Linked DNA regions of Homo sapiens: regions 1, 2, 3, 4, 6 and 7 are each linked to region 5. The links are contacts of gene promoters, found by promoter capture Hi-C in blood cells and fetal thymus (Javierre and others, 2016). All regions are on one chromosome and are shown on one strand. The core of a region is centred on a gene start or on the middle of the fragment in contact, and the rest is flanking DNA. Distances in the headings are between cores, read along the strand shown.

The links. Contacts are between HindIII fragments. The CHiCAGO score rates a contact against its expected background, and 5 or more counts as called.
Region 1: a fragment that was not itself captured here is called in contact with the fragment with the promoter of TNS3 in region 5 in 2 of 17 cell types (M0 macrophages and total B cells); the score reaches 6.0 in M0 macrophages.
Region 2: a contact is called between a fragment that was not itself captured here and the fragment with the promoter of TNS3 in region 5, in 3 of 17 cell types (total B cells, naive B cells and M2 macrophages). The highest score is 9.9, in total B cells.
Region 3: a fragment that was not itself captured here is called in contact with the fragment with the promoter of TNS3 in region 5 in 1 of 17 cell types (total B cells); the score reaches 7.5 in total B cells.
Region 4: a fragment that was not itself captured here is called in contact with the fragment with the promoter of TNS3 in region 5 in 1 of 17 cell types (M0 macrophages); the score reaches 5.0 in M0 macrophages.
Region 6: a fragment that was not itself captured here is called in contact with the fragment with the promoter of TNS3 in region 5 in 1 of 17 cell types (M0 macrophages); the score reaches 5.5 in M0 macrophages.
Region 7: a fragment that was not itself captured here is called in contact with the fragment with the promoter of TNS3 in region 5 in 3 of 17 cell types (M0 macrophages, M1 macrophages and M2 macrophages); the score reaches 6.8 in M0 macrophages.

The regions. Positions count from the first base shown.
Region 1 is chr7:47,995,054-47,997,864 of GRCh38, reverse strand. It overlaps SUN3 (Sad1 and UNC84 domain containing 3), which reads left to right. Exons shown (of 10, transcript NM_001030019.2): 7 at 1,719-1,834. Among named protein-coding and RNA genes, the nearest start is that of HUS1, 17 kb to the right of the region's middle. The HindIII fragment of the contact is 4,013 bases long and covers 1-2,811 here.
Region 2 is chr7:47,910,925-47,913,624 of GRCh38, reverse strand. All of the region lies in intron 8 of PKD1L1 (polycystin 1 like 1, transient receptor potential channel interacting), which reads left to right. Among named protein-coding and RNA genes, the nearest start is that of PKD1L1, 36 kb to the left of the region's middle. The HindIII fragment of the contact is 1,845 bases long and covers 402-2,246 here.
Region 3 is chr7:47,145,423-47,148,351 of GRCh38, reverse strand. No RefSeq gene overlaps it. Among named protein-coding and RNA genes, the nearest start is that of SNORD151, 320 kb to the left of the region's middle. The HindIII fragment of the contact is 1,360 bases long and covers 718-2,077 here.
Region 4 is chr7:47,973,358-47,976,057 of GRCh38, reverse strand. It overlaps HUS1 (HUS1 checkpoint clamp component), which reads left to right. Exons shown (of 8, transcript NM_004507.4): 5 at 371-445. Among named protein-coding and RNA genes, the nearest start is that of HUS1, 4.9 kb to the left of the region's middle. The HindIII fragment of the contact is 1,348 bases long and covers 659-2,006 here.
Region 5 is chr7:47,580,807-47,583,506 of GRCh38, reverse strand. It overlaps TNS3 (tensin 3), which reads left to right and starts at 1,396. Exons shown (of 31, transcript NM_022748.12): 1 at 1,396-1,456. RefSeq lists enhancers at 985-1,522, 1,523-2,060. The HindIII fragment of the contact is 9,706 bases long and covers 1-2,700 here.
Region 6 is chr7:48,083,379-48,086,084 of GRCh38, reverse strand. No RefSeq gene overlaps it. Among named protein-coding and RNA genes, the nearest start is that of UPP1, 4.5 kb to the left of the region's middle. The HindIII fragment of the contact is 4,999 bases long and covers 1-2,706 here.
Region 7 is chr7:47,953,781-47,956,487 of GRCh38, reverse strand. It overlaps a transcript of PKD1L1 not described here. Among named protein-coding and RNA genes, the nearest start is that of PKD1L1, 6.7 kb to the right of the region's middle. The HindIII fragment of the contact is 1,607 bases long and covers 540-2,146 here.

The sequences.
Region 1 (2,811 bases), core at 192-2,691, 410 kb before region 5:
AGTAGCCTTAGTGAAAAGGCTACATACTGTGACTGACTACAAGGGAGCAGCAAAAGAAATGTCCAGAATAGGTAATCTACAGGGACAGAAAATAGATTAATAATTGCCAAGGCTTGGGGAGAGAGGTTGAGGGAAATGGGGAATGACAGCTAACCACTATGGGTTCCTTTTGGGGTTGACTAAATGTTCTAAAATTGATTGTGGTGGCCGTGCAACTCTAAGAATATAATACAAAACCCTGAATCATACACTGTAAATGAGTGAATTGTATAGGATGTGAATTATATCTTAATAAAGCTGATTTAAATCTTTTAATGAATGAGAAAATGAATAAATATGAATTATTTTCAAAATTCCACCACACTAAAATTTTAATTTTTTTCTGGAAAGGATTATGGGGATGGGGTATTCAGTCCCCACATTAGCAGGTGAAAGTGTAGATTCTGTCCAGCCAGTTGGTCGAGTAGGAATAGTGAGCGGGCAGTCAGAATTAGCCTTCAAAAACGAAGTACACATAGGGTTTCCAGATAAAATGAAGGGAGCCCAGTTAAATTTAAATTTCAGACAAATAGCAAATAATCTTTTAGTATAAATATATCCCAAATATTGTATGGGACATGACTACTACTAAAAAAATTATTCTTTGTTTACCTGAAATTCAAATTTAAATGGCTGTCTTTTATTTTTATTTGCCAAATCTGGCAACTCTAGGAACTCAATTACTATTTCAAAAAGTGTGTCATCTTAGGAAAAGTATAGATAATCAGCTGGGCGCGGTGGCTCACGCCTGTAATCCCAGCACTTTGGGAGGCCGAGGTGGGTACATCACTAGGTCAAGAGATCGAGACCATCCTGGCCAACATGGTGAAACCCTGTCTCTACTAAAAATACAAAAACTTAGCCGGCGTGGTGGCGGGCGCCTGTAGTCCCAGCTACTTGGGAGGCTGAGGCAGGAGAATCACTTGAACCCAGGCAGCGGAGGTTGCAGTGAGCCAAGATTCCACCACTGCACTCCAGCCTGGCGACAGAGTGAGACACCGTCTCAAAAAAAAAAAAAAAAAAGAAGGAAAGAAAAAGTAAGGATAATCAGATATTTGATGAGGCACATGTATTTTTAGTGTTGTGGTGTGTTATGCAAATGCAATTTGTAAAAGCAATTTGCATTTTCTTTATTTATTCTGTATAAAATACATTTTGCTTCTAAAATGAAGTAACCTGAAGGGATAATGTTTGATGAGTATATTTCATATTTCTTTGATTAAAATAGAGTTCAATGAATCTGCATAATTGCTACAAATGTAACTTGAAGGACATTTGGAGCATTGTTGGTTTTCTGCTTTTTTTGTTATTGAGTGAATGGGAATGACAGGAAGTCTCATTTATCACATGAGCTGTTAAAATATAAAGATCTATATACGTTTTTAGGTGATACAGAATCCATATAATATTCTCATCTCTAATTTACTTGCCTCAAAATTCAATTTTTTTAATCATACATTTTGTGAAACTAAACAGAACAAACTAGTTTTCTTCAAAATGACAAAATTTCAGTGGTAGTGAAAACTGTCATACTTTTCCTATCAATTCCTGAGTATGAATTTTACCTCGCTTATAATTTGCCCAGTAATAATTTTCTAGAGACATTGTTAAAATTCAAATGATGTGTTTTGAATTGTGTATGTTGTTTCTTTATTTTACAACTTACTTTATAATTTTAGGAGCCTCCATCATTGAAGCTGGGACCTCAGAAAGTTATAAAAATAATAAAGCAAAATTGTACTGGCATGGGATAGGTTTCCTAAATCATGAAATGCCTCCAGATATTATTCTTCAGGTAAAGCTAAATTAAGAATCACTTATTTCTATTTTAGAATTTTGTTCTTATTATTTATCATGAAAATGTTAATTTTAAAAATGGAGGCAATATAAGAGTGTCTGAACTTGTCACAGAATCTGAAATCATCTCATTATATTTTTATAGTCAGTACACTGCATGAATTATGTCTTATTTTATGGTCAGTAAACTATGATTAATTATTTACTTATTTATCATTTTAAGATTAGTAAACTAGATTATTTTATTTTCAAGTAAAACATATACATTCCATGTCTTTTCTGTAAGTTGATTCTGTGACCATCCTTTTCCATTGAAAACTTCAGTCATTCAACAAACATTTGTTGAAAGTACTTGTCTCCTAAGTGCCAGTACTGTACTATGTTAAGTGCTATTCAGACCACATGTTCTTAAGTCTAATTATAACAGGAGAAATCTCCAAGTAAGATCCCCACCAAACTTTTCAGTTACAGTCTAAAGGCAGTAGCCATCAATAGACAGCAGAGCACCTCTCAACTTTGATCCATACACCTGAAGTTAGTTGCAAATTTAGAACTTTCAGGGGTAAAACCCACTGATCTTATTCCAGGCTGTAGTTTATATCTACAAAGTAGTAGACCTCATTTTTCTTCTCTACCACCATAACCACCACCACCACCCCCATCTCCATCAAAACCCTCATCTTCATCACCACCACCAGCACCATCTTTCTTCATCACAACCTCCATGTCCATCACCATCACCGCCACCACCATCACTGCCACCACAGCCACCATCACTGCCACCACCACCACCACCTCACCATCTTTCTTCATCACCACCCCCATGTCCATCATCATCACCACCACCACTATCACTGTCACCACCACCACCACCATCACTGCCACCACCACCACTACCTTCATCACCACCATCACCACTACCACTTCAATTATCACCATCACTATCACCACCACTACCATTACTACCATCACCAT
Region 2 (2,700 bases), core at 75-2,574, 330 kb before region 5:
AGCCGGAGTAGGAGCAAGAGGGGGGGAGGTGCCACACACTTTTAAAAGACCAGATCTCATGAGAACTCACTATCATGAGGACAGTACCAAGTGGCAGGGATTGGGGGTGACACTAAACCATTCATGAGAAATCTGCCACCATCATCCAATCACCACCCACCTCCTCACCGCCAGTGCTGAAGGCCCAACCTTCAATACTGGGGAATGCAATTCGACATGAGATTTGGTGGGGGCACAGATCCAAATCATATCAACCTGCTTTCCCACATTAGTCTTAGTTCCGGTTCTAGAGCTAATATATTCGGTCCTCACTCAGCTTTTTTTTGGCATGGTGTTCCTGTTTGGTTGTCTGAAGTTTGTCCTCTAGTAGATTTTTTTTAGGAAAATTCATGCAATAAGCTTCCTCTAAGTTCCCATATTCAAAACTGTTGCTGCCATTATGTTGGAACGACAGTGTGCTGGCTCTGGACTCCTTGGACACATGTTCTTTTCCTGGGGAATCTGGTTGTCTTTCCATTCTGTTCTCTCCTGTAACCATGGTTCTCCAAGTTTGGCCCAGCAGCATCATGACCACCTGAGACTGGCTTAGAATACAGACTCTCAGGCCCACTGCAGACCTACTGAATCAGAAATTCAGCTGGTGGCCCTGACACTCTGTCTGAAGAAGCCTCCCTGAAATTCTCCATTCTGTCTTTCTTACCTTGTGGTGATTCCAAAGTCAGCCTTCTTTTTTCCCCGTCATTGATTAATGTTTTTCTGTGATTGTCATGAGAATTATTTCTTTTCTTTTTTTTTTTTTTTTTTTTTTTGAGACACAGTCTCACTCTGTTGCCCAGGCTGGAGTACAGTGGCATGATCTCGGCTCACTGCAACCTCCATCTCCTGGGTTCAAGTGATTCTCATGCCTCAGCCTCCCAGGTAGCTAGGATTACAGGCATACACCACCACGCCTGGCTGATTTTTGTATTTTTAGTAGAGATGGCATTTCACCATGAAGGCCAGGCCAGGCTCAAACTCCTGACCTCAAGCGATCCACCCGCCTCAGCCTCCCAAAGTGCTAGGATCACAGGTCTGAGCCACCGTGCCCAGCCGGTAGTTATTTCTTTATTTGCAACTCCAGCAGCTTTGCCAGCACGTGTCTAAGTGCTGGCCACTCTGGGTCACCTTTCTCCAGCACATGGTGTACCTTTTCAATGTGTCCTTTGTTTCAGGAAAGATTTCTTGAATTAGATCTTTACATTGTTTCTATTCCAATATGTCAGCTTTCTTTTTGGGAGACTGGCATACATCTATTAGTTCTCTTTTGTCTTTTCAAATCTTTTTTGTTTTTCCTTTTTCATCTGATCCGCTTTCCTCATATTTTCCTCTGCATCCCTTCTTTTGTGTTCTACACTTTCCATTCTCCATTATACTCTAAAATGTTGACTTTGTTTCCTTCCAAGACCAGATGCTCTCTGGTCTTCCATCTCAGAAGATAACGATTCCTCAAGTTGTTCAGTCCTGTTCTTGTGGACAGTGTTTTTCTGATAAATTATCTTAATCTATTATGAGTATTTCCTGAATTTTCCCTCTTGACTCTTATAGTATCTTGTACATGCTGAATGGTCTTTTCTCCCTCCTTTTCTCCCTTTATCCTTCCCTCCCTTCTTCTTTCCTGCCTTCCTTCCTTTCTTCCTTCCTTTCTTTTTTTTTTTTTCTTCACAGCATTACTCATAATTTAAAGAGTTGCATTTTTTTCTGAACTAACTGCTGGTGGAGTGTGTGTGTGTGTGTTGCGTACACACATGTATGCGTGTTGATGATATTCACAGCCACTGAGCCCTTTGGCAACTGAGTTCTCACTTTAGGACGTTTTCTGTTTTCTTCCTTCAATACGGTTCCTGCTCATGCATGCTTGATATTTGCCGCTTTTAGCAGTTTTTGCGTCTATTTTGTATTCTGAACATGCTAGCTACCTCCTAGTTTCACTAAACAAAGAGAGAAAAAGTTTTTATTTTTATTCACTGTTTTCCTTTTTGTTTTTGGATTAACTCCTAGAAGATTAAGTAGAAGGCTAAGTATATCTCTATTTCACATCAGGACTTGCTCTATTATAATAATTTTAAGCATCTGCAACTTTGATACATATTCATTGGTTTCTTTTGTTGTTTTATGAATAAAGTAAGGAATTGGTATTTGTATTAGGCCATTCTCCAATTGCTATAAAGAAATACTTCAAACTAGGTAACTTATAAAGAAAAGAAGCTTAATTGGCTCACGGTTCTGCAGGTTTTACAGTAAGCACGGGTGCCGACATTTGCTTAGCTTCTGGGGAGGCTTCAGGAAGTTTACAATCATGGTAGAAGGCTACAGGGCAGCAGGCACAGCACACAGTAAAAGCAGAAATGAGAGAGAGTGAGATGCCACACACTTTTAAATAGCCAGATTTCAAGAGAAGTCACTCACTATCGCAAGGACACCACCAAAGGATGGTACTAAACCATTCATGAGGAATCCACTCCCATCATCCAGTCACCTCCCGCCAAGCTCTACCTCCAACTTTGGGTATTACAATTCGACACATTAGATTAGGGAGAGGTAAACATCCGAACTATATCAGTATTACATCTTTTATCAGGGGTTAAGTCTAAAGTCAACTTGAGGCTAGGTGCAGTGGTTCATGCCTGTAATCCCAGCACTTTGGGAGGCTGAGGTGGATCA
Region 3 (2,929 bases), core at 148-2,647, 440 kb after region 5:
TGTTTCATAGATGGAGGGTAGTTAAATATATCTCTACTTTGAGTTTGAAAATACGCTTTAGGAATTGTATCTTATCAGTAAGTGCTTTACAAACACCATTTATTATCTGATTTGAAATATTGCTAATCCATTTGAACAATCTCATTTATCAATGGTATGTCGAGGAAATTTTGTGCCATATATGAATATATATGTGTAAGATTTTTCTCAGTATTGTTAAAAACAGTAATAAGTTGAATTCAGCATAAATATCCAGCAACAGAGGATTTTTAAAATAAAATATGACACATCCAAACAATGAAATGCTGTGTAGCCACTAAATAATTTCTATGGAAATCTCTTTGGTTTATATTTTTGTATCTTTTCCCTATGTATCAATACTGGAACATAATGTTAAAAGTGCTTTTCTCCCATGATGGGATTTTAACTAATCTTAATGTATTTATTATACTACAGATAATATTTTCTGTAGTTTTAAAATTTAAAAAAAGTAACATAAAAATACAAATACCACTAAAGATAAGGAAAGAATTGTTCTTAATAACTGCAATCAAGAAAAGTCATACAAATGGCATTAATCTTTTCTACAGCTCCACTTACTTGCTAAATAAAATTTACTTATTTGTATTAATCTTTTCTGCAGCTCCACTTACTTGCTAATAAAGCAACCAAATAAAATAGTTGTTGCATGTAGTAGAAGCAGAGAAAAAGAAAGCTTTTATTCCAAATGGAGCCAAACTTGGCCTAGCCCAGTCTGCATTTGCATACTTGCTTCACACATAGCCTTGCTTCACACATAGCCTTGCTTCACAAAAGTCCTCTTGGCATTGTAAATATCATGGTTCTCTTTTCAAGGACACTCTGTGTGAGAAGTACTTTCTTGGCTCTGGACACTAAATAATTATTAACTGACATGTTGCACTTAATAGTTTGTGGTCTCAGCTCTTGTTTATATAAAACGTTTGACCACAGCTCTAAAACACCTCACCATGTAGGTGGGGAACTTGTCATAGGAACTCAGATGGTAGGACCCGTTGACTGGTTACTGCTAGCCCTTGGCAGCTTTGTCCTCACTTGCTGCCACCCCCCCTCCCCGCCAGGGCCCTGCAACAGACACTAGGTGCTCCTATTTAGAGTTGGTCATGGGTAAGGAAAAGATAGATTTGGCCACAGTCTCTCAATACATAGAGACACTTTATGTAGAAAAATCTCTTGAACCTATTAGGAGTACTGCATGAGCAAAAAGTGACTCATGACCAGATATTTCTGAGGATGGCAAAGGGGCAAGTGAGAGAAGCTGGATTAAGTTATTCCCCAGTGAAGAATATTACTTGTGTTAACAAAGCGTAAATTTTCTGACACGTGACTTGCAAAGGAAAATGCTATTGATTAGCTGAAGAACTCCTGAAGATTGTAGCAAAACTTTAATAGTGTAATAATCTTTGAAGATTTTTTGAAAGAACACATACAGAACAAGAGAAAGGAAGTTCTCCCAAGTTTGACTCAGGTACATCATGTGGTGCTACCATTCACTCCTGTATATGGTGGTATCTATATTTGCTTTGGTCTCCCTACATTGAACACATTTTGTGGCAATTTGCTTTTATCTCTATTTATACGAAACTTCTGAAAGAATTCCCTGCATGTGCTGCCTCTGCTGATTTCCTCCTGAATTCTCAACAAAACTGAGGCCGATCTCTATACCCTATCACATAACCACGGGACTGAAAATGCTCCCTCAAAGGTAACTAATGACTTTCTGATTATTCCGCTTCTTTTCATTCTTTCTCATATTCAACTTTCGCGTATCGACTTACAATTATGATCATACTTTTCTTCATGAAACTCTCTTTACTTTGGTGTACAAAACTCTGGTTTGTTTTTCAGTTCTTCTCCTCTTCCCTTTTCCCCGTCCTTCTTTTCAACATACCCTTTAAATAGTACTGTCCTTAGATTTCTGACTCTAGCTTCTTCCCTTTCCATATTGTATATCTCTCCGGGTTAGCTCAGCCTCTCTCTTCACTTCAACTTCCATCTTCATCTCATAAGTGACAAGTATACACCTGTCACCCAAGCTTTCTTGTGACACCAGGTGAAAACTTTCATTTGCCTGCATGACATTTCTACCAGGACATTCCATCACAGCTCAGAATAGATCTGTCACCCTCCCTAGAAATGTATTGCTTTGCTCACAGTCACTATCTCAGCCAATGGCAGCCCCACCCTGAGGCATCCCTCCTGCTGAAAACATCCCACAGCCATCTCTCTTACAACCCCATCTTTTCACTAACTCTGGTTCATTTTACTTCTGATATGCTCCTGGTTTTATCTGCTTCTTTGCTCATTACCAAGCCCTATTTCTAACCATTACCTGTTTTCATCTGGATTACTATTAAAGCCTTTGGTTTCATCTTTCTGCCTACCCTGTACTCCCTCCTCAAATGAGAAGTGCAATTGCTCCAATATATTTCCCACACAAGGCCCAATCATGTCACTCTTCCCACACACTTTTCTGGTTCCCTGTTACCTGTAATATATAGCATAAACTCTAGCTGGGCCCTCCTTCAGAGCTCTTCCTGCTGGTGCCCTACCCCACTCCCCACCCCTCCTGTGTTGCTCCTTCACTTGTGTGCAACTTTGTCACCCCATCCCATTGCTTGTGTTCTTCCCTGTACTAAAAATGCCATTTCCTTTTTCCTCCTTTTCCTACTTCTTCTAATCCAATTCAACCCTTCTTGACCTAAAGCAGTCAACTGGGGACCAAAGAAATACTGGTACTGAGGGAATGCAGGCTGAGTGTATTTAATATGCTGATTCAGACATTTGACAATTCCTGGAACTGCAAACTACTTTCTTAAGAAAAACTATCTCATGATATTTGTTAGCTGTTCCTGTGGGGGAAAGCAAGGAACACCACTGAGTAACATGA
Region 4 (2,700 bases), core at 83-2,582, 390 kb before region 5:
GTAAATGTCCCTTAGAGGAGGGCCTCCTGCTGATTGCCTGAGTTATATTCCCCCTGGACCAATATAGGGGCATCTCAGCTGAAGTACCCTATTCCTTCTTGAGCCAAAAGAATGCCCACAGGGACATGGTTGCTGAGGTAACCAGAGGCAGGCATTCCATTCTTTAATTTTGCTTGAGCATCCTTGAGTTAGTGAAATAGAATTGGTTTTCTTTTTATATTTTTAAAAGAACTTTATTCAGAAAATTGTAAAATAGTATCCCATAGTTTTTGAGCATGCATGTGTTCTAGAGTTAGTTATGGGGCCCTTGTCATTACTAGAGTATATTAATATTTTTAATACTTGTGCTTTTTTCTCATTGGTTTTGTAGGTTAGTATTTATTTACCAGTCTTGAAGACTATGAAGAGTGTTGTGGAAAAAATGAAAAACATCAGCAATCACCTTGTAAGTCACAACTTCTTTAGAAAAGAACTCTGAAGTATTTGGTGGGACGGCGTGGGTTCTCCAGCTCACCCTGCAGCAGTCCATGCAGGTGGGCACCTCCTAACCGAGTTCCCACTTATGAGGACCTGGCCTGGTGCTGAGAACCTGCAGATTGCTAGTTGGATTTAGAAACCTATTCCAATACTTTTCAACTCTAATTCTTTGAGGAAAGCTTTTATATTTGCCTTTAATCTGCCTGTTTTTCCTCTTATATTTTGTATGAAACATTGTATCTTTCTTTTTTTTTTTTTTTTTTGAGACAGAGTCTCACTCTGTCGCCCAGGCTGGAGTGCAATGGCGCCATCTCACCTCACTGTAAGCTCCGCCTCCCGGGTTCATGCCATTCTCCCACCTCAGCCTCCCGAGTAGCTGGGACTACAGGCGCCTGCCACCATGCCTGGCTAATTTTTTGTTTCGTATTTTTAGTACAGACGGGGTTTCACCGTGTTAGCCAGGATGGTCTCGATCTCCTGACCTCGTGGTCCGCCCGCCTAGGCCTCCCAAAGTACTGGGATTACAGGCGTGAGCCACCGCGCCCGGCTGGAACATTGTATCTTTTACCTGCTAACGTGCCCGTATTTTTCTGTGAGTCACTGATATGACTGACAGTGAGTTTGGAGTTTCCTGTCTGCGTGCCAAGTGTCTTTCAGTGAGCCAGGGACAAAGATATGCCACACCATAGCAGCCTTTATTCCAAGCACACCTCACACCAAGCTAGGGGGCACTTTTATATTTCTGTTTATTTTCTGTTTATTTTGTGGAAGTCTCCTATGGCCACATGGCTCGAAATGTTACAGTGTGTGACAGTGGTGGGAAATGTGTAGGTTATCCTCATTCATACCTGGGGTTATTGTGAATTCTTCCTTCACTCACTGCCCCTCCCTCCTCCCCCTGCTCCCTCCTATCCTGCTCCAAAAAACACCCTTGGTTATGTCCCTGAATCTTCTAAAAACCACTGTCCACCTGATGAAGCATAAACTTTTGATCTTGACAGTGTACCAGGCCACCTTTATAGCCACATCTCTGTTGTATTGCCACACCCTCCCTGCAGAACGAGGCTGGGTTCTGGTATTCCCCCACAATGCCTCTTCTTTTTTGTTCAGTTTCTTTGCCATTTGACACATGGCTTCTTCTCTCCATCTCCCTGGAAGGCACTTAGCCATTCTCATGCTTCATCACAGACCTTTCCCCACCACCCCTCTGGAAGCTCCTCCATGGAGCTGAGCTGTCCAGTGTACATGGTAAATCACCTGCTAAGATCTCTGAAGGTCTCGTGAACCACCAGCTTCTTGATAAAGGAAACCCCATCTTAATCATCTTTGTGTCCCAGCTGCCCAGTGTGGGATTGCCACTCAGTAGGCAGCAATAAGTGTTGCATGGATCTGGAACAAAATTTAGCTTCAAGAGGTCTTTGAAATCACAAAAGTATTTTGAAGCCTAGAAAATGTACATTTGACTGTTTTTTTCTAGAGTTCTGCACACTAAGAGCAATGCTGTCATTGGACCTGGGTAACTCAAAGCTTTTCCTTCATAACTTAATCTATAAAATCTGTTTTCCATGAAGCAGTGTGCACTGTGCTGACGTTGGTGTCACCTGTGACTGCAGTGATGCTGATCCAGTTGTCAGGCTGGCTTCATCTGGGGATACCCTGGGGACTTCCAGAGAAATTCAGAGAGGCCCAGGAGAGAAAAGACAGGGCTGTTAATTGAAGGATGGCATTTGTTTGTTCTTTCTGTTCAATGAAAATGAGTCAGCAAGGTAGAGAGGTAGAAGGGTAGCTTAGAATCATCAGAGGTGTTTTGTTTTCTCTTTTTTGGAGTTTAAAAAAACATAGAAATATTGTGGAGAGGCTACTACGATCTGGAATTACTAAATGGAAAGTTATCAAGTTACTGTAGCAAAGTACATAATGAGGTCTTCCTGGGTATCCAGAATTCTGTATCTGAATATTACAGGCAGTAGAATTAAGGAAAATGGGTAGACTTAACACACTAAAAATGCCCACCTTCCCATTAGAGATGCCCAGTTACTTCCTTTCATTAAATGCGAGGTGTGACTGATGGGGTGGGTTGTATGTGACTCATGCAGGAGCAGAAAAAGAAGCAAGAACTGGAGGGAATTGACATCATGTTCTAAGACATTGCTTCTAAGTTCTACCATGCGTGTGAATCCCCTGGAATCTGGTTAAAGTGCAGGTTCTGATTTGGGAGGTCTG
Region 5 (2,700 bases), core at 147-2,646:
CTAGAGTGTAGGAAAAATGCCTGCCTCATCTCTAGGGGCTGGGGCATGGTGCTCATGAAGCCTTTGCCTGGGAATAAATACCCAGATCAGTCTGGGGATGAGAAATGACACTACCTTCCAGAGCACAGCAGGGGTTGTTCAAGTCTTCCAGAAAAGCAGCTCTTGTTTCTCCTCATGTGGTGGGAGTGGAGTCAGAGCGTGGCTCAGGCCCCACATTCTCAGCTGTTTGGATCTGGGGACTCGAAGTTTCTGGTGGTTACTTCTGAAAGTCTTTTCCAGGATAATTATTCTTGCTCGGTTTCTCTGCCATCTCTGACAGGCTGTTTTCCCTGCTTCCCCCGCTGCCCTGAAGGGGCCAGAGGAACAGGGCAGGACCCCAGGGCTGCGGATGGGTTAGGCAGCTCTGTTCCCGAATCCAAAGCAGTTCTTGGTGACTGTCCTCCAAGACTTGCCCTGGACCCTGCTCCGGGTGGGATTCTGAGACCGCCTGCTCCACGTGGCAGATGAAATCTAGGTCTCTTCTGTGAGAGGCTGGCGGGGAGGATGTTTTCCTGGAAAGGACCACAGGACAAACCGCTGATGAAATTTCTCTTGTGACCTCCCTGGAGGAAGAGCACTTCTGATTTCTGCAAACTTTTTCCATTCCCCCGATCTCACAAATGGGGAAACTGAGGCTAAGCGACTGAGTTCAGGGCCATCTGAATCTCAGGGATGGACAGTCAGGATGGACAACCTATAGGCCTTTCCTCCTCTGAGAATCTCTCTGCTCGGGATCGTTTTTCTGGTTTCCCCTGGCTTGCCTAAATTCTGCTCATTTGTCCCGGCGCATTTTAAGAAGTCATGTGACTTCTAAAGACTTCCCTGACCTCCTCCCTTCATTAGCTGGGTATTTCAGGGGCTTCTACGGCACCCTAGGCTTTCCGGAGCGGCTGTGCTCCTTTATGTATGCGCGACTCCCACTAGGCTATGAGCTACAGGAGGGAGGGTAGGTCTTGCTCCCGGAGAGCACCTTAATCACAGGCGCTGAATGAAAGAATGAACTGGTTGTGCAGGAACCAGGATCCGAACCCGCCTCCCCAGGTACTCTAACACCGGCCCGGCGGAACCTGCAAGCCTCCAGACCACTTGGAGCCTGGGCTGCTCAATGGGTCTGATAATTCCAGGTCCTCTCTGCGGCCAGCGAAGGGAGGTCCCAGGGCGCACCTCGGCAGGGCGGGGGACCCCGGTGAAGGGCGCCTGGAGGCGCGCTGCATTGTTAGGGTGATGAGGCCAGGTGACCCGCCAGGCTCGGGGCGCGGGCGCGGGGGCCGGCCGTGGCGATTGCCCGCGCCGCCTCGAGGGGGCCCTGCCGCGGGCGCCGGCAGCCAGCCAGGAGGACGGGCCCGCCCGCGCGCTACTCGGAGCCCAGCCTCGTTGCGGCCATCGCCCTGCCGGACCGCGCCTCAGGCTCCCCCAGGTACTGGGGCCGGGGAAGGAGGAAACGCGGCCACGCGCCGCGGTCCTCTTTGTTTCGGGCCCGGCGCGGGCTTTCGCGCTCCGGGCGCAGGAACGAGGCTTGGGGAGCACAGAGATCTGGAGCTGGGGCGCGGGGACTGAGTTCGGGGAGCGCGGAGACAGAGTTCGGGGAGCGCGGGGTACGGGAGCTCAGGGCGCGGGGATGGGGTCACGGGAGAACCCAGGTTAGGGAGCGCGGGGACCCGGTTGGGGGCGCACGGGCAAGGGGTTTGGTGCGCGCGGGTACGGGGTTTGCGGCGCGTGGGGGGCGGGGGCTCGGCAGGAGTCCCAGGACAGGGGCTGGGGCGCGGGCCAGCTTCGCCGGAGTCCGGGGACGGGGGCGCTGACTGGCTGGGTTTGGGGACTGGCTGGGGCGCAGGACCACTCGAGTGGGACCCGTGGCGCCCGGGCGCCCTGGACTGAGGGCAGAGACCGGAGCAGCTATGTCGCAGTCGCTGTCGGGACCGAGCGGACTTTGCTCCCTAGGACTCCGTCTCGAGACTCCAGGTGGAGAGCGCAGCTAGGGGCTTCAATGGGCAGGCTCAAGACCCTTCTCCTACTTTTTCTAGGCAAGCTCTCCAGTGCGTCTCTTTCCCTTTCCCTTTGGTGGGTGGGAGGCAGGGGGTCTTTACGCGCTTCCTTTTTTTCCCTGAAGGACGGGACCTCGGGGTGGGGGGATATTCTGGGGTGGGGGGTGCTGTCCCAGGCTGGGGGCCAGCTGTGTGGCATGTGCCTCCTGGCACGCGGGAGCTGTCGCTGACAAGCAGGAGGAGGGAGGGTCCCGGACGGCCCAGGGGTCTCTGTGTCGGTGCTGTGCAGCGGCCTGACATGTGAGTCCCGGGTCCTTTGCTTGGAGTGATTTGAGTGTCTGTGGCGGGAAGAGATTCAGGCGTTCCTCAGGCATTCTCCAGACAGTGTCAGCAGATGACCCGAACTCCAGCGTGGTTGAAAAACTCAAAGCGCCATCAGGGTGTGGGGCCAGCAGAGAGCACTACTGAGGGTGGTCACAACCCCCTGGGAAGCCCCCAGGCTTCCTTGGGGCGCATTCACACACTTTGATCTTCCGGGTTGGCTTTCCCCCCATTTTTTTCACTATTTGAATGCATGATCATGGAGGACTCTGAAAATATACTGAAAAGTATGAATGCAGAACTCATTGTATTAATATTGCATGGCCCTTCTGAACTAACCAACCCTTTGACATTT
Region 6 (2,706 bases), core at 71-2,570, 500 kb before region 5:
TTGGGCTCTTTCAGAGATGCAGTTGGCCCTGAGCTCTGAGAGGTGGGGAGGGAAGGGGCTGAGAGGCTGAAGGCCAGGCCACACCAGATAGTGACACACCACTGCCCTTCAGGTTTCCCAAATCTAAGTAACTTCAAACTCTTTGAAATTCTCCCAAAGCTAATGTGTCTACCTAAAAGAAAGATGAGACAAAATTAACATAGAGAGTTTATTTGTGCCCAGGTTGAGGACTGTAGCCCAGGACACACTTCTAAGTTGCCATGGGGAGTGCTCCAAGAACAAAAAGGAGGCTCAAGTTTTTAAAGAAAAAAGAACAACTCAGGAGATGGGGCGATTGCAGAGTTGTCAGGAATCCTCATTGGTTTACAGAAATAACATTGGTTAGTGATTGCCCACACAGTGTTGAACTATAGGGTGGATGGCATCTTATGGCTAATTGGCCTCAGTTATTCTACAGCCACATAGCAAGTGGCTTCAAGAGGTAACCACTTAGCTGAAGGGGAAGTGAGCCATGACTGCTGTTCTGTTCTAAATGTTCTCTGGGCCTGATAATTTAAAGGCTCACCTTCCTCAGGAAAAGAAATGTGTTTGTTGTTTGTTTGTTTGTTTTCTTTCTCAGATAATATTTTAGAGATAGTAGCTGAGGCTTCTTCTCTGTTTGTCCTCACTTCCCAATTCCTCATGCAATTGCTCTTTTCTTTCCAATCCAGCAGCCATACAGATTTCTAGAACACCCCTCAGAGAGGGCAGAAATTGAGCCGCAGTGTTTTCTAAACAGCTGCCTGGTCCATTCGTGGGTCATGAAACCCATGTGGTGGGTCACAGCTAGCATTTTCATTGTCAGTGAGACAGAATGGAGTGAAAAAGCCTCTGCCTGCTTTCCACACCAGAGCACGTACTTTTATCACACGAACTATGACTCAGACACCACAAACCCAGACCAGGCCTCCAGGTCAGAAGTTGACTCCCCTGAGGCCTGTGGTGAGACTACAGCATGACTCAGACCCCTGAGATTTCAAATTCTTGCCAAAATACAAAAAGTGAGATTCTTCCCGCCAACTCTCACTCATCATATAGAGCTACTCAGTCCCCTGACCCACCCCCAGCTCAGATAGGCTCACAGTGGCAGGCCCACTCCCCTGGCAGCTGAGTCCAGTCTGATGAGCCATCACTTTCCCAGGTTGCTGGTCCTAGTAGTCAACAAAGAGAGTCAAACTCTGTAAAATATTTGAAGAGATTTATCCTAAGCCAAATGTGAATGACCATGGCCCGTGACACAGCAAACGGCCCTCAGGAGGTTCTGAGGACACGTGCCCAAGGCGGTCAGGGTGCAGCTTGGTTTTATATGTTTTAGGAATGCATGAGACAGCAATCAAATACATTTAAGAAATACATTGGTTTGGTCCAGAAAGGCAGGACAACTCAAAGCGGGGTAGGGGGCAGGGTTCAAGGCTATAGGTAAATTTAGACATTTTCTGGTTTACAATTGGTTGAGTTTGTCTAAAGACCTGGATTGATAGAAAGGAAATGTCCAGGTTAAGATAAAAGATTGTGGAGACCCAGGGTATTTGAAGTCTTATAGTGGCTGCCCTTAGAGACAATAGATGACAAATGTTTCCTATTCAGATCTTTAATAAAAGGTGCTAGACACTTAGTTAATCTCTTTTTTTTTTTTTTTTTTTTGAGATGGAGTCTCACACTCTCACCCAGGCTGGAGTGCAGTGGCGCGATCTCGGCTCACTGAAAGCTCCGCCTCCCAGGTTCATGCCATTCTCCTGCCTCAGCCTCCCGAGTAGCTGGGACTACAGGCGCCCGCCACCACACCCAGCTAATTTTTGTATTTTCAGTAGGGACAGGGTTTCACCATGTTAGCCAGGATGGTCTCGATCTCCTGACCTTGTGATCCACCTGCCTCGGCCTCCCAAAGTGCTGGGATTGCAGGCGTGAGCCACCGTGCCCGGCCAGTTAATCTCTTTAAAATTGGGAGAGCCTGGAAGAAAAAGCTCTAGCTATGTTAATAGAGATTTTTTACAGATGCAAATTTCCCCCACAAAGGACAGCTTTGCAGGGCCATTTCAAGATATGGCAAAGAAACATGTTTTGGGATAAAATATTTTTATTTTCTTCCCTGTCTCGTAATGTTATGCCAGAGTCAGGTTGGAAAGTAAGTCACGATATATAGGGTTAAATAAAACCCATCTCATGAGAATTCATTGTTTATAGGGCATGACTCCCCAGACCCCTTAGATAAGAATTGGCAAGATAAAAAAAAACGTCAGAGCTTAGTCCTCACAGTCAATGGCTAGCCTCCAAGGAAGTGGAGGATTCCCACAGGATTCCAGCTGCCCAGAGGCTTCACAGGCATATCCATGTTTACAGAAAAGATACAGGCCATGAGATATTTATACAAAACACTTAGGAGTCACAGCCAGCTACCCAACGGATGCCAATGGCTGACTGGTTCTTGCCCTCTCAGTCTTCACCTTTAGGAGAGGTGGTGCTGGCAGGATGTGGTATTTCTCATTCAGGGCCTCTGGAACCATCTAATCTAGGAAACACCCTTGTCTCATGCCTTGCTGCCACACAGCTCCATTTGCTCTCCAGTTTTCCAAGAAGCCTTCTACCTGACTGGTTTTGCTCTAAACCACTATCTCAGACTGAAATTCTTCACAAATTCCACCCAGGAATAATAAGGGTTCATTTCTG
Region 7 (2,707 bases), core at 94-2,593, 370 kb before region 5:
CCAAATGGTGCCCTAAGCCCAGGTTCCCTGCAGTCCACTCTGTGATTTGTTTGTTGACTGCTGTGAGCCCCACCCCCATTCTTTGTTTCTAATTTACACCTAGCAGGCTAACCCTGCTGGCACCTGCAGTGCTTCCAGGGGGAAAGGACCATAGTGTGCCCCTGTGAAGAGTCTCAGAATGGTGCGGAAGGTGAATGCCCACCTCCCGCTCTCTTTTCCCACTGTAGAAACTGATTCCAGAGAAATTCTCCAAGTGCGGTGCTATGTGGGCTTGCGGGAGAGGTGTTATGATCAAACAGAACCATTCTCTTTACCCTCTGTTCATGGTTTTTCTTGGCTCTGTGGTCCAGTGAGTTGTCACAGCTTCACTCCCAATTTCTGGGATATTCAGGGCAATAATCTTGCCACTGGGTATTTGCTAGTTGAAATTATGTGGTAGGGAGAGAAGCCAGTAAGCTTCACTTCTCCGTTTGGCTGATGTCACTCTCGAATTCTGTACTTTCATACGGATTGTAATAGGGAGGGTCTAAAAGGAAGCTTCAGTTTTGGATTTTTAGAGCTTCTTCTAAGTACAATTGTTGAATCAAGAGGTAAAAATGGTATGTTATAACTGGAAATACGCTGAGATTAAAAAGGAGATAAATTAGCCCCATTGGGACAGTGCTATTGGGAATGTGAATTGATACCACTTTCCTGGAGTCTAGTTTAGTATTTATTTTATATGTAATGCCTGAAAAGATGTGTGTCTCCTTTGACTCAATACTTATAGGAATTTACACAAAGGTTATAATCAAAGATTATAGAACTGTTATACTGGAAAAACACGAAATATTCTAATTATGAATTAATTGGGGATTGGTTAAATAAACTATGGTTTGATATGCTCTAAAAATAATGTTACAGAAAAAAGTGTACTGATATGGCAAAATGTATGACTTATAGTTAAAAAAGCAGGTTAGATGTTGATAGATACAGTATGATAGAAAAAGATCAGGAAGGTATATGCTGACATTTAAATCTGGATATTTATGAGTGTTTTTTTTATTTCAATCTTTGTACATGCATGTATTTTCTAGAAATTGTATTACTATCTTTGTAATAAAGTAAATTATTTTTAAGGGACTAAATAATAAATATTTGTTACTTGAGTGCCTTACACATTCACTCGGCAATTACAGTTTCCCGAACATTGGACTTCAGACTCTTTTCACAGCACATCCTTATTTTCATAAATAGAAAATTAAACTTTTTATTTGTCATTTTGATGTTATGCCAGGTTTAGAATACTGGAGTCTCGATCAATAAGGTGGCACCACATTGCAGAATCATCTCTTTTTACCATGGGCCCAACATGGATGAGGATCAATCAGTGTCTGTAACAGTCTTTGCAGTGAGGGCAGAGTGACCAGTTATTAAGTTGTAGGCTAAAAGATCCTGGGAGAGACCAGCCACGCACAGGACTTCACAAATCACTGGACAGTAAGGAAGATGACCCTGTGGGTAGCACGAGAAAATGTAGCCGCCTTCCTGGAATCTAGTTCCTATTCGCCTGTAGCACCAAATGAACCAATCTTACAACCATAACCAGCATATGTAGCTTGGAAAGATGCTGAATTCCACACCCTAAGATCTGGGAATGGATTTTGGCTCTTTCCAGCGTCCTAGTCTGGGGCAAGTCATTCAGCCTCTTGAGACAGTTTCTCTAACAGTGACTAAACATGCTGACCACCTGTGGTGGTTGGAATAAGAGAAAATAGCATTACTCATTGGCAGGTTTCTAAATTGGGAAGCGTAAAATGTGAGCATTTATAAGCGGTCTTAGTCTGTGTTGTGTGGCTATAGCTGATTCCCACAGACTGAGTCATTTATAAAGAAAAGAGTAATTACAGTTTTAGGGGCTGGGGTGTCCAAAGTAAGGTAAGGGGATGCATCTGGTGAAGGCCTCCTTGCTGTATTGTCCCCTGGCAGAAGGGCACAAGGCAGAAGTGGGTGCAGGAGACAGAAAGGAGGCAAGAGGGGCAGACCATCTTTGATAACAACTCATTCTCCTGGTAACAGCATTAAGCCATCATGAGAGCAGAGTCCTTGTGACTTCATCACTTCTCATCAGGCTCTGCCTCCCAACACCACTGCAGAGGACCAAGCTTCTAACTTATGAATTTAGGGGACACACTTAAACCATAACATAAGCCTTACCAAACAAAACAAGCAAAAATTGGCTTTTTTCTCAGTGAAAATACGCTGCTAACCAGAGGCTGCCAGTTCACGGCAGCACACAGTGCAGACTGGGTGACTTCCATGGCTCTTCCGAGGCTCATAGAGGTTTGGTTGGCGTGTCTTAGCGCACCATGACATCATCCAGTGACCTTAGGGCTCAAACCTTGTGACCAGACAGCCCTGTGTTTCTAACCTCAAGCTATTTAAAAATTTAAAGGAGGCTACATATATACACTAACCACTTTTTACCATACTAGTTTCAATTTAAAATTATCTTTTTGGTTATCTTCCTTGCTGAGAGAAAATTCTAGTGAAGCCTTCTGGGGGAGGATCCTCCCCTTACAGGGGAAGAAAAACATGACCAGACAGAAGTGAGAACCAGAACAGAGTGGAGGGCATCTACCTTGTGTTTTTGTCTTTTCTCTGTTCACTTCTTTCACTGTTTGCAAATAAACCCTGCCAAGGAGGCAGAGCACATAAGGGGCCCTCG